3 separate regions of the Homo sapiens genome follow, and regions 2 and 3 are each linked to region 1. The links are contacts of gene promoters, found by promoter capture Hi-C in blood cells and fetal thymus (Javierre and others, 2016). All regions are on one chromosome and are shown on one strand. Each heading gives the region's core, a stretch centred on a gene start or on the middle of the fragment in contact. The rest is flanking DNA. Distances are from core to core; before and after follow the strand shown. Region 1 holds the start of CCNB1 (cyclin B1). Region 2 overlaps SGTB (small glutamine rich tetratricopeptide repeat co-chaperone beta). Region 3 overlaps UTP15 (UTP15 small subunit processome component).

Region 1 (3,133 bases), core at 7-2,506:
TATCAGTGAAATAAGGGACAAGAAATAATCAACAGACTCTACAATGGTAAGAATAAGTTTACCAAAATAGGCTCAGGCGAAAGTTTTTCTTCTTTAACAGGCTCAGGTTCTGGCTCAGGTTCTGGCTCTGGCACTGGCTCAGACACTGGCACTGGCACCAGCATAGGTACCTTTTCAAGAGGTTTTGGTAGTTTTTTATCAATGACTTTTCCAGTAGCTGAAGGTTTTGCTTCCTGTAGATGAAACAGAGAGAATGAAATGTTTCTGCATCAAAGGCCACAGTTGGAAGGCGGGCTCTTACAGAAGTTAGGTCAGGAAGAGAGTTACCTTCTTCATAGGCATTTTGGCCTGCAGTTGTTCACTGACTTTGTTACCAATGTCCCCAAGAGCTGTTCTTGGCCTCAGTCCGGGCTTGGAGGTTGCAGCAGGGGCCGTAGGAACGCGCTTTGCGCCTGCCATGTTGATCTTCGCCTTATTTTCAGCATTAATTTTCGAGTTCTGAAAGAAGCAAGACCACTTTAAGAGCTGATCCACGAAGGCTCGAGTAAGTCAAGGGTTAATTAAGGTGGGGCACAAGGAGAAGTTCCCAGAAAGAAAGCCGACTAAAAATGGGTTCCGAGGGAAAACATGGGTCCCAGAGTCTACTCTGCGGCCGTGACAAGTCAGTTTCCGCCGACCTCTACATTTACCAATTGAGGGATTCCCTGATTAGTCCTGGCCAGCCCTAAAATACCGAGAATTTACATTTGAAAGGAAACCGAAAAAGCCTCCAATTGCAGACACCTTCTCTCTGGGAAGGGGGTTACAGAGTTGCTGGCGGGCCCACTCAGGGACCCTCTATCACTTTTTCAAAAGGTTCCCAGTCGACTCTCCACCTCCCCAAAACATTTATCCAATATCCGTCCAGTTCTCTTTCTCACCTTCCTCCCTCCATCCATCGTCCCCCACACTCTCTCACCAGGCCTGGGCCCACCTCGGCGCTCTCTTGGTGAGTCCCCTCCCACCTTCCTCCCCAAATCGCTCCTGCGGCCCTCTCCCGCTCGGGAGGCTCCCGCAGGCGAGGCAGGGAGAGCAGGCAGCAGCTAAGAAGGCCGCGTTAGTTCGCAGTCCGAAGCGGCTCACCCTGGTGACTCGGAGCGCCATGGCTTCCTCTTCACCAGGCAGCAGCTCAGCGGGGAGAAGCAGAACACCGGAGGCCCGACCAGCCAAGGACCTACACCCAGCAGAAACCAACAGCCGTTCCGCCGCAGCACGCCGAGAAGAGCCAGCCTAGCCTCAGATTTAAACCCCGCACTGCTCCCTCCTTATTGGCCTGTTCGTGGCACTCACTCCCTTCCCATTGGCGGCTGCCGGTCGCAGAGAATGCGTTTCCAGGGCGATCGCGCGAAGGCGTTCGAGAGGGGCGGGGCCACAGTGAGGCTAGGCCGGAAGGCCTGGCCAGGCTCTCACGTGGTCTGCCTCTGCGCCTGCGCTCTCGGGCAGCTGCAGCGGCCACCTGGAGAGCAGTGAAGCCAGTGCGCCGCCCACCTGGAAAGGTTAGCCGGGCAAGAGTGTGCGTTGCCAATGCCAGCTCAGGAAAGGCCTAGTGGCCTTTGGAAGGTGACAGAGGCGCGGCCACAGTCTCAGAAGTGTCAAAAGTAGTTTTGGATCTAGTGTTGCACACTTTCCATTTCTACGGTAGCAGCAATAATATAGTTCATGAAAGGCTTTAATAGACATTCTTTCATTTGATCGTTGCAACAACTCTCTGGGTTGGAGGAACTGAAGCTCAGCGACTTAGATGACTTTGCCAGGGTCACACATTAGCAACGGGGGAACTGAATTTAGGGTTTTTTTTTTTGAGGGGGAGGGAGGGGGTGTATCCGTGTTGTTTTCACAACACTGATTGTCCCTTAACAATATTACTTGATTACTTCAAGATTGTCCAGTTTCCCAAGGCCAATTGTTTTGTTTGTTTTAGCTTTCTATTTGGAAATAATTTCATACTTAGACCAGTTGCCAACAAAAATCTTGTAAGGAATATTTCTATGCCCTTTACTCAGATTCAACTATCCTTAACATGTATTTGCCTCTCATGGGAAAATCAGGAAAAACTAAACAAAAAGACATTTTACCCCATTTGCTTTGTCATTTGCTCAGATTCTCTCTAGATCCAAAGAAAAACAAGAGGGTTCTTTTTGCCTTCTACTCCTCAAAACACACCAGCAGCTCAGCAATTGGAGGGGAGGCTGAAGGACAAAAACATTGCTATCCCATAGAGCAACGGTATAAGAGCCAATAGAGACTCCTGGCGCTGGAAGTCACGGATCCGAAAGAAGGCGCCCAATCATTTGGTTTCTTTGGATCGTTATTGAGTCTTCTGTCATCATAGTTCACCCTCCTACTCGAATGCCTCCCGTGGGGCCCTTACCCTTGCTCTCCTCTGCCTGGAATGCCCGCCTCTTCTTGCATTCAAGCCCCTGGGTTCTATTCAGGTAACTCCCATTCATCCTTCAGTTCTGTGTTCAACATCCATTCTCACTCAGTCTTTCTGGGTTTGATCAATCCTTCCTCGCCCCATGCAGGGGCGAGAGGCAAGGGGCGAAGCAGGATTACTTATCCTCTGTGTTCCAGTTTAAAAATTTTTTTTTTTACTTTTTTTTGAGACGGAGTCTCGATCTGTCGCCCAGGCTGGAGTGCAGTGGTGCGATCTCGACTCACTGCAACCTCCACCTCCAGGGTTCACTCCATTCTCCTGCCTCAGCCTCCCGAGTAGCTGGGACGGCAGGCGCCCGCCACAACGGCCGGCTAATTTTTTGTATTTTTGGTAGAGACGGGGTTTCACCATGTTAGCCAGGATGGTCTCGATCTCCTGACTTGGTGATCCGCCCGCCTCGGCCTCCCAAAGTGCTGCGATTACAGGCGTGAGCCACCACGCCCGGCCAAATTTTTCCTTTTATATGCTTTATTTTTTAGAGCAGTTTTAGGTTCGCAGCAAAACTTAGCAGAAAGTATAGAGCATTTCACCTGCCTTCCCCACTATTGACACCCCACATTAAAGTTGTACTTTAATTATAATCTGTTAACCTACATTGACACCACAGTATTACCCAAAGTCCATAGTTTACATTAAGGTTCACTCTAGGTGTTGTGT
Region 2 (2,700 bases), core at 10-2,509, 3.5 Mb after region 1:
GAAGCTTAGTTTGACCAGATATGAAATTCTGGGTTGGAAATTCTTTTAAGGATGTTGAATATGGGCCCCCAATCTCTTCTGGCTTATAGGGTTTCTGCTGAGAGATCTGCTGTTAGTCTGATGGGCTTCCCTTTGTAGGTGGCCTGGCCTTTCTCTCTGGCTGAATGGCAGGGTTCTTAACGTGTCCATGTACCTCCTGTGGGAAAGCCATGGATGGACTTTAGGAAGCTCATGGATTTTTCCAAAATTATATATAAAAATCTGTGTACATGTGTATGTGTGCATTTTTCCAGGGAGAGCATCATATTTTTCATGAGATTGGCACAGGAATCTGCCAATATATGAAAGGTTAAAAACTACTCTCTTACATAAAAGTGGTCCTAGGAAGATATCTAACATCTGCAGTTTGAGTATTTGGCCATTGTGGTTCCCTAGCTTGCCCCTCAGCATTGTCTGCCTTGTTTTCTATCTTTAGAGTTTATTTGATATAGATAGATAGATATAGATATAGATATCTCATGTGTTTGTCTTCTATTCTTACAAAACAACAAAATAATGTATGGGCCTTTTTGAGAACATACACGCTCTGGTCCAATATGTGGTAACTTTGATTTAGTGGGTTTAGGATGTTACCAGGGCATATCAAGCTCCTGGGGTGACTGTATACTTTGGATGAGAATTATTCTATCCATGATATGCCCTTGGAAGGCAGGAATCAGTTTTTATTCATCTTTTGTTTCCTTCAAAAAATGTGTCTTGCATCCATTAAATCTTCTGTTGAACTGAAATGCACAGATGACTCATTCCCAGTGAGATAAGTCTTTTTAGCAACTGGTAGTTTTTATTTTTCCCTTATCAAATTTCAGCCTTCTTACCATGCTAGCAAATACATGTTTTGTAGATCTTGTGACTTCATTTTTTTTTTTAAGAATGGTTACCCATTCTAGGACTCAGGTTATGGCATTGTAACAAGATGTGAAAAATGGAATTCTTTTAGTTTCAGATTTGGCTTAGGCTCCAAGCTGCTATGTACCAAAATAAGGTGTGAGACCACCATGTAGGAGTTGCAAAAGATGGGGATAAAAAACATGTTTTGTGACTCATAAAAAAGGCCAGGTTGATGGAAATTAAAACATGATTTTTGGAGAGAGCTATTAGAGTTTTAGGGCTCCCTATATGAAGGAATTAGGGAGGCTTGCTCTCATCTCAAGCCCTCACTGAGAAAGGGCTTTTCTGGTACAGAGACTTTCTACCTGATAGTTCAACTGGATAGCCAGTGGCAGAATTAGCTGTGTGGTTTGGGCAGTTACTGTACTGATGAGAGTGGAGCAGAGGTGTTTCCTGTGGACCAAGGTGAGCACACACAATTGTGAGAGAGTGTGTCTGAATATGTTCAAGAGGCTTTCCTGGAAGTGTGACAGGATCCCAACACAGAGAATCTCTGGAGGACTGCCAAGAACCTAAGACTGAAGGGAAAGTCATAGCATCCATCCAGAGGGTAAATTACCCTTTTCAAAGAATAGGTAAGAAATCTCCAGGGCCTAGGGAAAGGAGAAGTGTCTGAAGAACATGAGAAAGTACCCCATAAGAGAACCACAGTAGTTTTTGAATACCTTGCAAACTCAAAAAGCACCAATGCAAAACTAGTAAGATAATACCAGTCATCAAATAAGAACTTTGCTGCTCCTTTCACCTTTCCCTCCATTTAACCCTCAACCTGGAGGGCCACAACTCTTAATCAGCAAGCTGAGGGAAGAGGACTGGAAGTACTACAGGATAAAGAAGCACTATAGGCCTTGGTGTGCTGGCTCACACCTGTAATCCCAGCACTTTGGGAGGCTAAGATGGGCGGAGCACTTGAGGTCAGGAGTTCCAGACCAGCCTGGCCAACCTGGCGAAACCCCGTCTCTACTAAAAATACAAAAATTAGCTGGGCATGGTGGTGCATGCCTGTAATCCCAGCTACTTGGGTGGCTGAGGCAGGAGAATCACTTGACTCCGGGAGGCAGAGGTTGCAGTGAGCTGAGGTCATGCCATTGCACTCCAGCCTGGGTGACAGAGTGAAACTTCATCTCAAAAAAAAAAAATAGCCCTATAGGACAGCGGTCCCCAACCTTTTTGTAACAGGGACTGGTTTCATGGAAGACAGTTTTTCCATGGACCATACCGGGTGTAGGGGGTAGGGGCAGGATGGGGAGAGGAGCGTTAGATTCTCTTGAGGAGCACTCAACCTAGGTCCTTCACATGCGCAGTTCACAATAGGGTTCTTGCTCCTATGAGAATCTAATGCTGCAGCTGATCTGACAGGAGGTGGAGCTCAGGCAGTAATGCTTGCTCGCCCACCGCTTACCTGCTGCTGTGCAGCCTGGTTCCTAACAGTCTGTGGCCCAGGGGTTGGGGACCGCTACTATAGGAAACAAAGCAGTCAATGGTGCCTCTTTTCTACTACAACCGGTCAGTCTGTAGCAGGCCCATGCTAGGAAGGGAGAAGTTTTACCTGTAAATGAAGCTTTATGTATTTGATTGTTACACTGAGACATTAATTGCTGAACTGGAGGTCATTTTATAGAACTTAAAGTGACAGGAGGATTGCTTACTGAAAAGTGACTGGAAAAGCATAGATCTGTTCTAAATTTCCTCTAGGTCCTAGATTGTGGGAGAAGGGGAAGAACTACTGCTGCAGAACTAGTTTAAAGGGAT
Region 3 (3,070 bases), core at 142-2,641, 4.4 Mb before region 1:
TACATTACAGTTCTGAGAGTCTATTATGTTTTCAAGACAGCCTGATTTTTCCAAACACATTTGGAAGACATGAACAATCAACAAAAGAAGAATAAGAAAATAAAAAACAATTGGAAGCCAGGCATGGTGGCTCACACTTGTAATCCCAGTCCTCCGGGAGGAAATTGAGGTAGGTGGATCACTTGAGCCCAGGAGTTCGAGACCAGCCTGGGCAACATGGCAAAACCGTCTCTACAAAAAAATACACAAAGTAGCTGGACGTGGTGGTGGGCACCTGTAGTCCCAGCTACTTGGGAGGCTTATGTGGGAGGATCACTTGAGCCCAGGAGGTAGCAGATGCAGTGAGCTATGGTCACATCACTGCACTCCAGCCTGGGCAACAGAGTGAGACCCTGTCTGAAAATAAATGCAAACATACATACATAAAAATTAATTTAAAAACTGAAGAATTAATCAGAAACATATTCCTTTATAAAAAAAATTTAAACCCCTCCATCCCAAAAGAGTCCCATAGCAACATTAAAGTACATCCCCGTGAGATTATTTGCTTCAGGAGGGAATAGAGTTCACCAACCTGTTATAAAGAGATCCGGATTAAGTTTGCTAGCACATCCACACCTCACATAATCAGAGTGTTCTTTAAATGTCAAAATTTCTTTGGAGTTTGGAATATCCCATAATTTAACTGTATAATCATCAGCCCCAGAGACCACGTGATATTTGTCAGCTGTAAAATCTACTGTATGAACTGCTCTGAAAGATTGAAGGTCAGTATATTAAAAAGCAAGAAAATTATTTTTCTGATACCTTCTAACATAAAATGCTCCTTTTTCTCAGATTAAAAAAAAAGCAGCTGAGTTTCAGGGAGTCTTCATAGGGGGAAATCATGAAAGAAAGAGAAAACTTACAAGTGTTTGCCCCCAAACCAATTAAGAAGTGTAAATACTCCTATATTGTAAAGTTAAAAAAAATTAAAGGATAGCCTTAAAATTATATTTTCTAGTATATAAACAATTCCACTTAGCTGCTGAATATGGAAGCAAAGGCACTTTAATTTTTAAAATTTCAAAAAGTTCTTTAAAAAACTCTAAAGAGATTTACCACTAAATAGAATCATGTTACATAAATTTCTGTTAAATTTTAACAAATTTCAGCACGGACATTGGCAATCCTGAAAACAAAGTTATAATATAAAATTGTGATGGCCACTTAATTTATTAAGGGGCAAAACACTATAAATTCAAGAAGAAAATCCACCTTCCTACTTGACTTCAACATAAGAGCCTCTAAGACAGTACAGGCCTATAGAGCTGTCATTACCAGCTGTAAGGTTGTCTTCAGGTCAGTAATTCATAATCTCAGCTGGGCCACAGACCCCACTAAAGTTAACCAAAAGCTACAGAGTAGCTCCCTAGATAAACGTGTATTTCCTAAAATATCACATACAATTCTAGGGAATTCATAAGCCCCATGAAACTGGACCACGGAACCCAAGTTAAGCACTCTTAGAACAATCAGGAAATATAGTACCTATAGGCAAATAATCTCCATAAAACTGATCTCTATCTTTTTAACCAAAGTCCAGAGAAAAAAAGAGCTTACAACAAAATAAAACCAGAACACACAGAAACCAACTGTCTCTTACTTTGTATGGCCTTCAAACTGCCTGAGGGGAGCCCTCCCACTTATATCAAAAAGTTGAACTCCACCATCTTCACTGCCAGCCACAAGCAATCTACCATCTTGTCGAAAAGTAGCACAGTATGCTGTGTCTTTAAATCGAGAAAAGGTTTTTATAGGTTCTTGGGAGTATCGGCCATAAATGTGAATCTACAAGATGAAAAACAGTATTTCACCAGATGGCTCAAGATCAGTAGTAAACTATACAAAAGAAAAATAAAGAAATTTAATATTATACTTACTCTTGAGGAAGCTGTGACAGCATAATTATATGGAGGCTGAGGAGAAAAGTCTACTTTTGAAACTGCACCAAATTCCTTAATCTGAACAGGGGTCTTAATAAAAAATAATAGTGTGTTAACAGAGTTACCACTGGTAAGACCTATTTATGCATTACATAATTTCTTACAGACCGTTTCTCTTTGTTCTTAGTAACATTTCTTAAGTTGTATTTAACATAAAATTACAAAGAAAGCAAAAAAGGTACATATCTCATCACCCAGACTATTCTTGTTGCCACTGAAATAAACATATGGTTAGAAAGCCACACCCCACTCTGTCTCTTCAGCTATTGAGTTTACTGTGATTTCTACCAGAAAAAAAAAGTTATCATGTCTACACCAGCATACAATAACCACGTACTTGTACTTTTAAAATAACAAAAAGATAATCATACCATGTAGGCTGTTCCACATCTTGCTTCTTTTCACTTAGTAACACATATTAGCTTTCATAGGAGCAATAGACTTACCATCCATTATAAGGGCACACTGTAATTTACTATACCAGTCCACTACTAATAGACATGGGTTTTTCAAGATTTCTACTATTACAAGCAATACTTCAATAAACATCTTTACACATATGAGATTCAAATTTTAAAATTTAATTCATTTGGCATTGATTGATCATCTGTTCTGTGCTAGGCATTTGTATGGTTAATCTGATTAAGCAGTATGGACTTTTACATAAAATTCCAAGAAAAAATAGATATCAAATTATCTGCCCAAACTATAAGCTGCTGATAGATGGTTTTCAGTTAATAATTCTCTGTTAGAGCATCCAGAGTATAACATATGCTAGAGAAATTGGCATAAACACAAATCCCTTCTCCCTCATTACGTCCCACACTCACCTTATAGTTGTTCCAGTACAGTGTATCTTGGGTGATTTTTTCACCAAGTATAGGATATGTCTGAATAGCTACAGGCTTATAACCAGCCATAATTCCATATAATTGCACTATTGTCCAAGAGTCACTATTTTGGAATTGGTATTAGAAATAATTACAGTGACTCTGCCTTAATTCTGAAAAATAAAATATTTTATATACATATTATAAGCTTGTACACATAGTTGATTTTCACTCTGCTTTCTTTAAAAAGTCTGT

Evidence for each region. Contacts are between HindIII fragments. The CHiCAGO score rates a contact against its expected background, and 5 or more counts as called.
Region 2: a contact is called between a fragment that was not itself captured here and the fragment with the promoter of CCNB1 in region 1, in 1 of 17 cell types (non-activated CD4 T cells). The highest score is 6.1, in non-activated CD4 T cells.
Region 3: a contact is called between a fragment that was not itself captured here and the fragment with the promoter of CCNB1 in region 1, in 1 of 17 cell types (neutrophils). The highest score is 10.2, in neutrophils.

Annotation. Positions count from the first base shown.
Region 1 is chr5:69,165,273-69,168,405 of GRCh38, reverse strand. CCNB1 (cyclin B1) reads right to left here and starts at 1,256. Exons shown (of 9, transcript NM_031966.4): 1 at 1,123-1,256; 2 at 328-498; 3 at 63-233. The coding sequence starts at 1,143. RefSeq lists enhancers at 1,001-1,230, 611-1,576. The HindIII fragment of the contact is 10,262 bases long and covers 1-3,133 here.
Region 2 is chr5:65,673,049-65,675,748 of GRCh38, reverse strand. All of the region lies in intron 8 of SGTB (small glutamine rich tetratricopeptide repeat co-chaperone beta), which reads left to right. Among named protein-coding and RNA genes, the nearest start is that of SGTB, 48 kb to the left of the region's middle. The HindIII fragment of the contact is 2,505 bases long and covers 7-2,511 here.
Region 3 is chr5:73,567,180-73,570,249 of GRCh38, reverse strand. UTP15 (UTP15 small subunit processome component) reads right to left here. Exons shown (of 13, transcript NM_032175.4): 2 at 2,816-2,988; 3 at 1,923-2,015; 4 at 1,646-1,830; 5 at 575-753. The coding sequence starts at 2,905. Among named protein-coding and RNA genes, the nearest start is that of UTP15, 3.0 kb to the right of the region's middle. The HindIII fragment of the contact is 3,269 bases long and covers 1-3,025 here.